Regions from separate parts of the Homo sapiens genome. Here region 2 is linked to region 1. Evidence: promoter capture Hi-C in 16 types of primary human blood cells and fetal thymus (Javierre and others, 2016). All regions are on one chromosome and are shown on one strand. Each heading gives the region's core, a stretch centred on a gene start or on the middle of the fragment in contact. The rest is flanking DNA. Distances are from core to core; before and after follow the strand shown.

What was found. The method cuts DNA at HindIII sites, captures the fragments that hold promoters and counts their contacts. A CHiCAGO score of 5 or more calls a contact.
Region 2: a contact is called between the fragment with the promoter of DZIP3 here and the fragment with the promoter of PCNP in region 1, in 1 of 17 cell types (naive B cells). The highest score is 6.8, in naive B cells.

Annotation. Positions count from the first base shown.
Region 1 is chr3:101,570,530-101,575,584 of GRCh38, reverse strand. PCNP (PEST proteolytic signal containing nuclear protein) reads right to left here and starts at 1,405. Exons shown (of 5, transcript NM_020357.3): 1 at 1,306-1,405. The coding sequence starts at 1,369. RefSeq lists enhancers at 886-1,045, 1,066-1,225, 1,306-1,435, 1,536-1,805, 1,249-2,194. The HindIII fragment of the contact is 5,212 bases long and covers 1-3,481 here.
Region 2 is chr3:108,586,013-108,591,104 of GRCh38, reverse strand. It overlaps DZIP3 (DAZ interacting zinc finger protein 3), which reads right to left and starts at 1,383. Exons shown (of 33, transcript NM_014648.4): 1 at 1,266-1,383. CIP2A (cellular inhibitor of PP2A) reads left to right here and starts at 1,667. Exons shown (of 21, transcript NM_020890.3): 1 at 1,667-1,831. The coding sequence starts at 1,730. RefSeq lists an enhancer at 1,189-1,468. The HindIII fragment of the contact is 803 bases long and covers 820-1,622 here.

The sequences.
Region 1 (5,055 bases), core at 156-2,655:
ATACAATTTTTTTGGGAAAAAAAATTCCCTAGTGAGAAAGTAGTAGATGGTTTAAATTTAAATTGTTCTTTCATAAGGTATTTTACTAGTTATAAAAAAAAAAAAAGACAGGGGGTGGGGAGGGAAGAGAGAGATGGAGTTCCAGCTTAACTAACAGAATTGTACGTGTTTTTTAAAAAGGAAATCCTGGGTCCAAAGTAATTAACATTACACTTAATCTTTTCAATAATTTTTGTTCCCAAGGCAATTAACATGAAACATTATGTTAGTAGGTCTACTAGTGGCCTTCATATGCTATTAATCGTTTCTATTTTCTCATATTAAATAATTTCGGGAATGATAACTAAGGTGGTCAGAATAGAGAATAATGTTTAAAATGTTCTAAAAACATTTTAAACAGCTCGCACGTGTTAAGTCACTTGTCTTGTTATGTGCAAAGAGGGAGCTGGAGAGATTACGTTTCTTTTCCTTCACGCACAAGACCCGAATTTAGGGAGTGGAATGGACAGAATAAGGATAGCTGTAACCTGAGTTTAACGTCGTAACAAAATACAGGAAGAGTCACGCTAGACTATTTAGTCGCCTAAGTATCTGGCAAGCGGTCAGCTGGCAACAGCCTAAGGGAGATACTTCAAAGAAAAGCAACCAAACCTTAGCCCTAGACCCCGCAGCTTAAACCAGAGGGCAGGCAAAGGCATTCCTCTTCCCCTCCATCACCTCGGCCCATCCTGTCACAGGGTCAATATTAAACTTGGAAGTAAAGGAAAGAGAGCAGGCCGGAGTTGTCCACCTCCTCAGTGAAAAGGGAGCAGCAAGCGTAATTAACTCCTGCGTGTAACTGAGAGGCCGGCACCGTCAGAAACTCAGCCTGCGGCCAGTTCCCGCGGCAACTACTCGGTGGCTCGCACTGTGTGTATGTTATGTCTCATGAGCGTCTCCGGTGTGTGTGTTTTGTGTGATGTGCGTCTCCGGTGTGGCGGTAGCGGCTCCTGCACCGCCGCTCCTGGTCCCACCCCGAGTTCGGTCTCCCTTTCTGGCGCCCATCTCCCTTCTCCTCGGAATCAGGGCCTCCGCTGGGGCCAGGAGGTGACGAACAGTGGCCGGCTCTCCCCAGGCAAGGAGGCGATGTAGGCCCGGAGCCCAGAGGGCCGCATCGGGCGTGCCCGAGGCAGGTCTGGGCCCAACACCTGGCCGGGTGAGGTCCAGATCCGCCCATTCTCGCCCCACCCCACTCCCCCCACCCTGGGAGCTCAAAGAAAGGCCCGGAGCATCCCACGCTGCCCACGACGCTGGGGTTGTGTTCACCTCCGGCGGCTCCAGCTCGCTGCGACTTTTCAGGCTTCTCGTCTCCCGCCTTCCCGTCCGCCATTTTCCCCGCCGCGGCCTCCCCTGCAGCCACGCCAAGGACGTCACGACCCCGCCCAACAACCATCGAGTTTTTGGGGCCAGCCGGCGTGGTGGCAGCCTAGAGCGGTCCCGAGGAATGAAAAGAGGCCGCCTTCGGAAGCGGAAGTGGATGTGATGTCATCGAGTAGCCGCCTCGGAAGGAAGAGCTGGGAAGGTTGGGCGGTCTAAGAGTGCTGGCTAGGCACTTTATTAGAGGGCAGTCAGGTCTTCATGGTCTAGCGACAGGTCCGGAGAAGTGAGGGGAAATGGAGCATCTCCCTGGAAACGCTGGGATCTTAGAAGGTTTCTGCATACCCAGATGTGGTTGCAGCTGAGGCTGAGAGTGTCTTCCGTTCCGGCCTTGCTGGATAACGCATGCCTGCCAACTCTATGTAAACAAAAAGCCTGCATTCTTTTTCCCTAAAGGGGAAATCAGTGTTTATCTAGCGCCCCCTAGCTTCAGACGCCTTTCATACACTCGTTTAATCACGGCGATTGTCCAAATATAGAATTCTCCTCTCAATTACCTGTAAGAGTTGAGGTCAGAGAGAGTAATTTGTCTAAGTCACGTAGCCAACTGTAAAGTTACTTTTTGTATAGTCTGCTTCTACCAAGTTGAGAAACTACTATGTCAAGTTAAGACTGCAGTAATTTCTGCCTTAATAAGAAACCTTTAGTGGATTCCTACAGTCTGCATTCTGAAGTCCGTGAGTTACATTAGGCCCTAGCCTACCTTTTCGGCTTCATCTTCCCCCTTTCTCAGTATTTATCCAGCCCTCCTAGCCAAATGGGGTCTATTACTTGCTTAGGGAACTGGAGTTTCTGGGTTTGTCTTACCATATATAGTTAGAGAAAGTCTTAGGAGTCAGAACTTGGATTTGAATCTGTTTTGCCCTTTCCTGCTTGAGTAACCTTGAGACTTGCTTACTGCCTACAGAGCTACCTTTTCTTCTCTATAAAAGAGCAATAATAATAGTACCTCCTCAAAGAGTGGTAATAGGGATCAAATGAGATCATCTTTGTATACCATTATTTGGTCACTTCATACTTCCCTCAGTTTGTGTGTGTGTGTGTGTGTGTGTGTGTTTTAAGTGTTGTCTCTCTGAATGGCTCAAAAGTTCCTTGACAACAGAGACCAGTTTTTAAAAACTGTGTACTGTGCGTTTCATATATGAATATAAAAAGTGTTCAATATTTGCGGATGGATTACTTCTCGGGCTTCAAGTCCAGGGAGTGGAGAAAGAATGAAGAAATTATCAAAGTGTGTTTCCCATGACAGAAGCAGGGCAGTGTGGTGGTGATTTTGTGATCTAGGTTGAAGTCCCTGATCCATCATTTATCATATATGTAAAAGTAACCAGCAAACTATCTTACAGGTACTTAATTCATGTTTGTTTCATTTTCCTTGTGATCTTTTCAAGGTAATCATTGAGACTCTCGTTTCTATCATTTTAAAAATGGAGATATACACGAAGATTTTTATTTGAGATTATGTATTTACAGATGCTTGTAATTTTTTATGGGGGGTGGAATGGAGTCTCTCATTCTGTCACCCAGGCTGGAGTGCAATGGCATGGTCTTGGCTCACTGCAACCTCCGCCTCCTGGGTTCAAGCGATTCTCCTGCCTCAGCCTCTCGAGTAGCTGGGACAACAGGCGCGTGCCACCACACCCGGCTAATGTTTGTATTTTTAGTAGAGACGGGGTTTCACTATGTTGGCCAGGCTGGTCTCGAACTCCTGACTTTGTGATCCGCCCACCTTAGCCTCCCTAAGTGCTGGGATTACAGGCGTGAGCCACCGTGCCCGGCCGATGCTTGTAATTTTTAAGTGAAGAAGATAAAGCTCAGAGAAGTCACATACCTATTTAGGAGCGGATCCAGTTCCCATATACCACACTGCAGAAGTTAAGGATGCATGTGCAGGACTAGGTATGAAAGGAAAAAAACGAAACAAAAAAAGGATGAAGATAGTAATCCATTCACCTTTCAGTTCTGTGAGTTTCATGAGGTGTGCCTGTCTTGTTCACCACTGTTTCCCCAGCACCTGGATTATACTAGTCTGGATAAATATCTATTGAAGAAATTAATGCAAGCTTCAGTAACCTCCTACAAACGGGTTAGGAAATGGAAAGGTAGTGTAGTATGAAGGGGTGGAAAGGGGGTGATCACTTTCCTCCCCATCAAAAGAGTCATGACAACATGCTTGTTAATAAAAGACAGGTTAACAAGAGAAAATTAATGTGCATAAGCATGGGAATGATACAACAAAATAAGAAAACTAAAAAAAGGGTCAGATGGTTGAAGTTTAATACTTTTCATAGGGGAGAGAGAGGTGGGGGGGCTACAGGCAATTTTAGAGGAGTAGTAAATGATTTTAGGAGAGATTAATGCAGAAATTCACTTGTAAATTATTCTCTTTGTAAACCAAGTGAAACTAGAGAACCAATAATAATTCGAAGGCCAGTCGTGGTGACTCACTCCCATAATCCCAGCTACTAGGGAGGCTGAGATAGAAGGATCACTTGAGCCCCGGAGGCAAGGTTGCAGTGAGCCAAGATCTCGCCACTGCACTCCAACCTGGGTGACAGAGTGAGACCCTGTCTCAAAAACAAAAAACAGTAGTTTGAGGCAAAGTTTGGGCTCTAAGTGTGGTGGTTAATTTTCAGTCTCTTCCTCTATGATGTGAGTTTTGTTTTTTTATGAGACCAGGTCGCACTGTGTTGCCCAGGCTGGAGTGTGGTGGCTATTCACAGGCATGATGATAGCACACTACAGCCTCAAACTCCTGGCCTCAAGAATCCTCCCATCTGAGACTCACAGGTAGCTGGGACTACATGTGTGCACCACTGTATCTGGCTTTGTGATATGTTTTAATTTCTTCTGGTTAATGAAATTTCAGGGAGGAAGCAGATAGAAAGCAATTGTGTTCTTTGATGTGTGTGGTTTCTAGGTAGATAAGAAACTTCAAAGAACAGTCTTATCCCGTGTTTTGGGGGAGGCAGAGGATTGAGAGGCAGGAGGTGGGGTGGGGAGATCAGAGAAACCTTGCGGCTGCTTCTCTAGTTCAGCATGTCAAAGCACCAAATTTTGGGGTACCGTTTTCTGACAATGAATAGGCAATGTAGTCCAAGGCAAAGAGCATTAGTTTTGCACCACACAAAAACTCGACTTAAATTCTAATTCTGCATTTTGCTAATTCTGTGAGTTTGTACTGGATAACAATGTTATGGAATATGTTATAACTATACAAATGGAATAATACATATAGGGTTACTGAGGGCATTGGGATAATAAAGGTTAAATCTATAATATGCTGCCTGGCCATGGTGAGAGCTTGCTTCATAGTAGCTATGGATTATAACCTCTAGTGAGCTATTTAAGTGGTTTAAAAGGCTGGAAATGGAAGGTAATATGAGCAATTATTATTTTAATTTAGATGTGTAATTTGTGAGGCGACAACTATAATATCTAACATTTATTCAAGCTTACTATACACCAAGCATTGTTGCAGGTATTCTACATGAAATTCAGTACATTAAATCATTACAACCCTGTGAATTAAGTGCTACTGTTACTCCCATTTTTATGGAAGAGGGAATTTGGGCACGGAAAAGATAAGTAAGAAGTGGAGCTGAACTTGAAATTCAGGCCAAGAGCTACCAAAAAAAA
Region 2 (5,092 bases), core at 134-2,633, 7.0 Mb before region 1:
GCATTTCCCCAAATGTTGCTTTCTTAATGAGGTCACCTTCCCATTTCCCTTATCAATTACCAACATTATTCTAGAGTAATAACGTCTATTTTTCTCTTTATATCATTTTCCTTACTTATTTATTGTGTTTATTATTTGGTTCCCTACCAAAATGTAAGTTGCATGCCAGTAGTATTTTTGTTTTTTTCACTGAGTCTATTGTGTCTAGAAAAGTGCTTAGCACATTGTAGATTCTCAATGAACTACTTATTGAATGAACAGTCCTATGAACCAGGTATCTCCCTTGGCCAGATTTTACCTAATGAAGATTCTGCAGCAGTGAGAACTTGCCTAGAGTCACATCGTCAAAGGTGGAGCTAGAATCTGTAAGCAACCTGGCTCTCTACTCTTTACCACTGCTGCATGTTACTGCATGGTGCCTCTCATTTATGTGGTGAATTTCAAAAGTACTATTTTGTATGTTTCCCTTACTAGACAGTTCCCTCGCAGCAGGGGATACTACTTCATCTCTGTTCCCTGACTGGCAGTTTCTAACCCATGTTACACGCTCTATAATTGTTTACGGAATGAATGAAAGCATAAATGAACACACAAGCTACCCAAAGATTTTTACATGAATGTCCCAACTGGTTAAATCATTTTTATCTTTCAGATTTAAACTTTTATAAAAAACAAAACCAAAACACCAAACCTGTCTTCAAAAATCTAGTAATTCAAAAAAATTCTTTTGAAGTGAAAAAACATGATTTCTGATAAACGATTTAATTAAATGGAAATGTACCCTATTCTTACAATTTCTACATCCTGGTTTTTAAAGCTTTATTCGACGTTAGGAAATATTAAGCAAAAAGCTCCAAAACCAGTAACTGACTCGCTTCATTACATACACATGCAATAATATTAAGCTATCTCCGATTTAAAAAACGCAAATAATAGTGCCATTTTCGTAGACATCGAGAATTATAAAACAATCAATCATGCCAGAGAGAAACAGACACCTTCACTTACAAAAACTGACGCTAACGAGTAACACCCTCCGGAGCAATACCTGGCCCAGGGTCAGCAGGAGGTAGTCTTCTCGAATAAATGTGACAAATACTTTGGTCAGGGCATGACTAATTTGCCACATAATGCCAATAGGTTGACTCTGAGAAACTACCATCCCCGGGCAGAAGGGGCGGGTGTAGGAGAGATTTAAAAACGAGGCCCCTCCCAGGCCGCCTCAAAATCTAGGGCCCAAGATTCTTCTCCTCAGAGCTCCTCACCGTGTCTAGACTAGGGGCAAGCGACCATTTCTCAGGTAGAGGATGACGCACAAACGAAAAACTGGCCATCCAACATGAAGGACGAGGAAGCGCACGAAATCAGAGCGCACAGCTGAGTGAGGAATCCCCCTTCTCCTAACCGATTCCTCTCCCGAGAAATCGCGAGATTTCTCGCCTTCACGGGATCTCAGGCCGAAACCTCGCGGCCTCTCAGACGAGGGTGGGTTAGCGGGGGCAGCTCCCAACCCCCGTCCTGGACCCACAAATCACCTCGACCCCTGGCCCACCCCGGCCGTCACCGAGAACGGTCCCCTAGGGTGCCTAGGGACTTCCGGAGCCCGACCGGATCCGGAAGCTTCTGAGAGCGAGGGGGTGGGGCCGAAAATCAAAAAAAGCGCGGCGAAAGCTAAAGGCCGGCGCACGCTGGGCGGTGGTGGTCCCTAAGCCGGGCCGCGGCCGGTGCAATGGACTCCACTGCCTGCTTGAAGTCCTTGCTCCTGACTGTCAGTCAGTACAAAGCCGTGAAGTCAGAGGCGAACGCCACTCAGCTTTTGCGGCACTTGGAGGTGAGAGGCTCTGGGGTAGAGGACAGATGGGGCTTCCCCTAGCAATTCTTATTTCACAGTGAGGCCGAGGAGTGGCGGCCCCAGCCTGGGAAAGAAAGGACAGTCCTTCGATCCCTCTGTTGTCTTTTCGTACTGGTAAAGGCTAGTGAGTGTCGGGGTTCCGCTGGCCGCAGCGAGAGGCAAGAGCGCTCACTGAAGGCTCTAGGAAAAGCGGGAGTGGGGCAAAAGGTTGGGAAGTTCAGGTTGTTTCGAGTAGGTAACGGAAAAAGCTCGGAACTTTATCTTTTCCTTTGCTTCTAGTTTTGGTTTTTCTACGAAACCAAGCCCTCAATACACAACTATTCTCAGTGACGGAAAGTCATGATTAAAACTTGGTTTTGCCCTTCGGTAATCTATAATTGAATTTGTTGCTTACTGCTCTTACTTGAACTCGGGTTGAACTCAAACTTGAAAAACATTATTTCAACATTAAGAAGCACTTCCCCTTCCTAGTAAGCGTAATCCTTTTTCTTTACCAAAATACATTGCTTACAGTTTTTTAATCTTAGAATGCTGAATTGCCTTTTTTTCTATTCTAGTGATATGTGTCCAGACGATTCCGTTTGTTTTAGGATCTTAATCTTCTGCTTTCATTTGTTTTGCATTTACGGAATTCAAACTAACATTGACCTCAGTTTAATTTTTTTAAAGCTCAATTAAGGCTTATTTTAACTCTCTGTGTCACAGCTTTCCTCTGTTAAGGTAGAATTGAACATAATTTTAAAATATATTGTATTATATTAACCCTATGATAAAAGACTAATGTGCCAAAAATTTGTAAAATATTACAGGAAAAAAATGATTTCCAGTAGTAGAGCAACAGCAGCTGTTAGTGAAGCTGCTGTTGTATTAAATGTGTCTGTCTTATCTTGAGCTTCACTGGTGCTCCTCTTTTCCCTACTTCAAGTGCCCATCTCCTAAGTACATTTGTTTTCTCTTTTTCATTCTTTATTTTAAGAAGTGCCTGCAAACCTAATAATTAAGGTGTTAGCTGTTAAATGCTTAAGGCTTTGCTTCTGAATTAGCATAGGCTCCAGAAGCCGCAGAATAAGCAGGGCAGTCCGTTTAATTTAAAAATCGGGAGTTAAGCATTTTGTATGCTATTCTGAAGCATTACCTTTCTTTGAATAAACAGGAAGGTTGTGCACTGAAAGAGATTTAAGGCACAGGGGCTTACACCTGTAATCCCAGCACTTTGGGAGGCCGAGGCGAGCGGATCACCTGAGGTCGGGAGTTTGAGACCAGCCTGACCAACATGCGAAACCCCGTCTCTACTAAAAATACAAAAATTACCTGGGCGTGGCGTCTCTCTGTTGTCCCAGCTACTCGGGAGGCTGAGGCTGGAGAATCGCTTGAACTCGGGAGGCTGAGGTTGCATAAGTAGAGATCGCTCCACTGCACTCCAACATGGGTGACAGAGTGAGACTCCGTCTCAAAAACAAAACAAAAAAAAAGAGAGACTTAAACAAAATATGGGATGGGGTCTTTACTGTATTCCTAAACTTTCAAGGGGTTTACATAAAACTCTTCTACCGTTGTTGCAAAGGTATGAAGAGCACTGGCTTCAGGTTACTACTAAAAAGGACTTTTTGTAATTAAGAGATAAAATACATACAGAGCATAAAGTGCATTAATCTTAAGTGAAGAGTTTGATAGTTTTTAATATATAGGTACCATAGCTACCATATTGGTAGCTAACATATAGGTAGAGTAGCTACCACCTGTATCATGATACAGAACATTTCTAGCCCCATAGGGTTTCTTCATTGCCTCTTCACATAAGGTTTGGGTAAGTAGACTCATACAATATGTACTCTTGTGTCTGGCCTTTTCCACTCAATAAAATCTGTGAAATTCATGTTGCACATGTACCGCTACTTCATTTTTTTTATTATTGATGTGTAGAATTCTATTGTATAAGTGTACCACAGTTTACATACACTTTCCTGTTGATAGGCATTTGGGTTGTTTACATTTCTGGGTGGAATTAAGAATAAAGCTGTTGTAGACATACATTTTTTGTGGATATATGCACACATTTATATACTTAGGAGTAGAATTGTTAGAGCATTGGAACATATGCCTATATGTTCCGTTTTAGTTGAAACTGCCAAACAATTTTCTGAAATATGCCATTTTATCTTCCCACTAGCAATATGTGAAATTTACCATCACTTATCCACACCAACCCTTGATGTTTTCATATTTCTTAATTTTAACCATTTTGGTTGACAGTATTTGTATTTTTAATGGTGAATGTCTTTGTACAGACTTCATGAGAGCGAGATCTGAGTATGCAAAGAGAGATGGGTATCATGTGAAAGGAGATTATTCATTCTTCTGTACTTCTCCCACACTTTTATAGCCCCATGCAGAGTGTAGGCTTTGAATGTTTGATGACTGGCAAAGCTGAGCTAATCTGATTTTTAATGATGATGTTTCATAACACTAATTTTGTGTAGTGATTAAAAGCATGAATTCAGGAACCAAGCTGCCTAGATATGAATTCCAGTTGTGCTTCTTTACTATCAGTGTGTACCTCAGTTTACTCATCTGCAAAACAAAATAGTGGTACCTACCTTATAGAGTTATTATGAAGATGAAAAGAGTTCACATATGTAAAGTGCCTAGATCGATGCCTAGGCCAGAGTAAGTGCTGTATAAGTATTAGTTATTATTAAAATAAATTATCTTTGTTTTAAGAGATTCAGTATAAGTAAAGGGAAAACTTGTAAAGCAATTTTTATTTTACCTAGTGCATATAATTATTACATGTTAGACAATTTATGTTAATGAGATACAGGACCAATCCTATAGAGAATCATTTTTAAAACAGCAAGTGTCTTATTCTGGAGAGCTAGATTTATAAATAAGCAACAGGGTAATGCCCACAGTATTTCCTACCCCAGAATATCTGTTACTGGCATCTGCACTTTCATATTTGGACTTATTTTTTCTTGTATAGACTTTTACTTTAGTAATGTTAAAACACTCCTTGGGAACAGATAATGTGAAACTCTTATCAGCAAAGCCTTAGAAGAAAAACTGATGTGGGTGAGAGAATAAAGGGAGGATACAGAAAGGAAAGATTAGAGGGATGCTAAAGCAGCCTGCTTAGGCTTGATCTTATTAAAATAAGTATTCAGGACAGAGTTAGTCTTATTCTAAGGTAACTAATGGTTTTGCCATCTTTGTAGAAAAGATATGCTTTGTAATAAATAC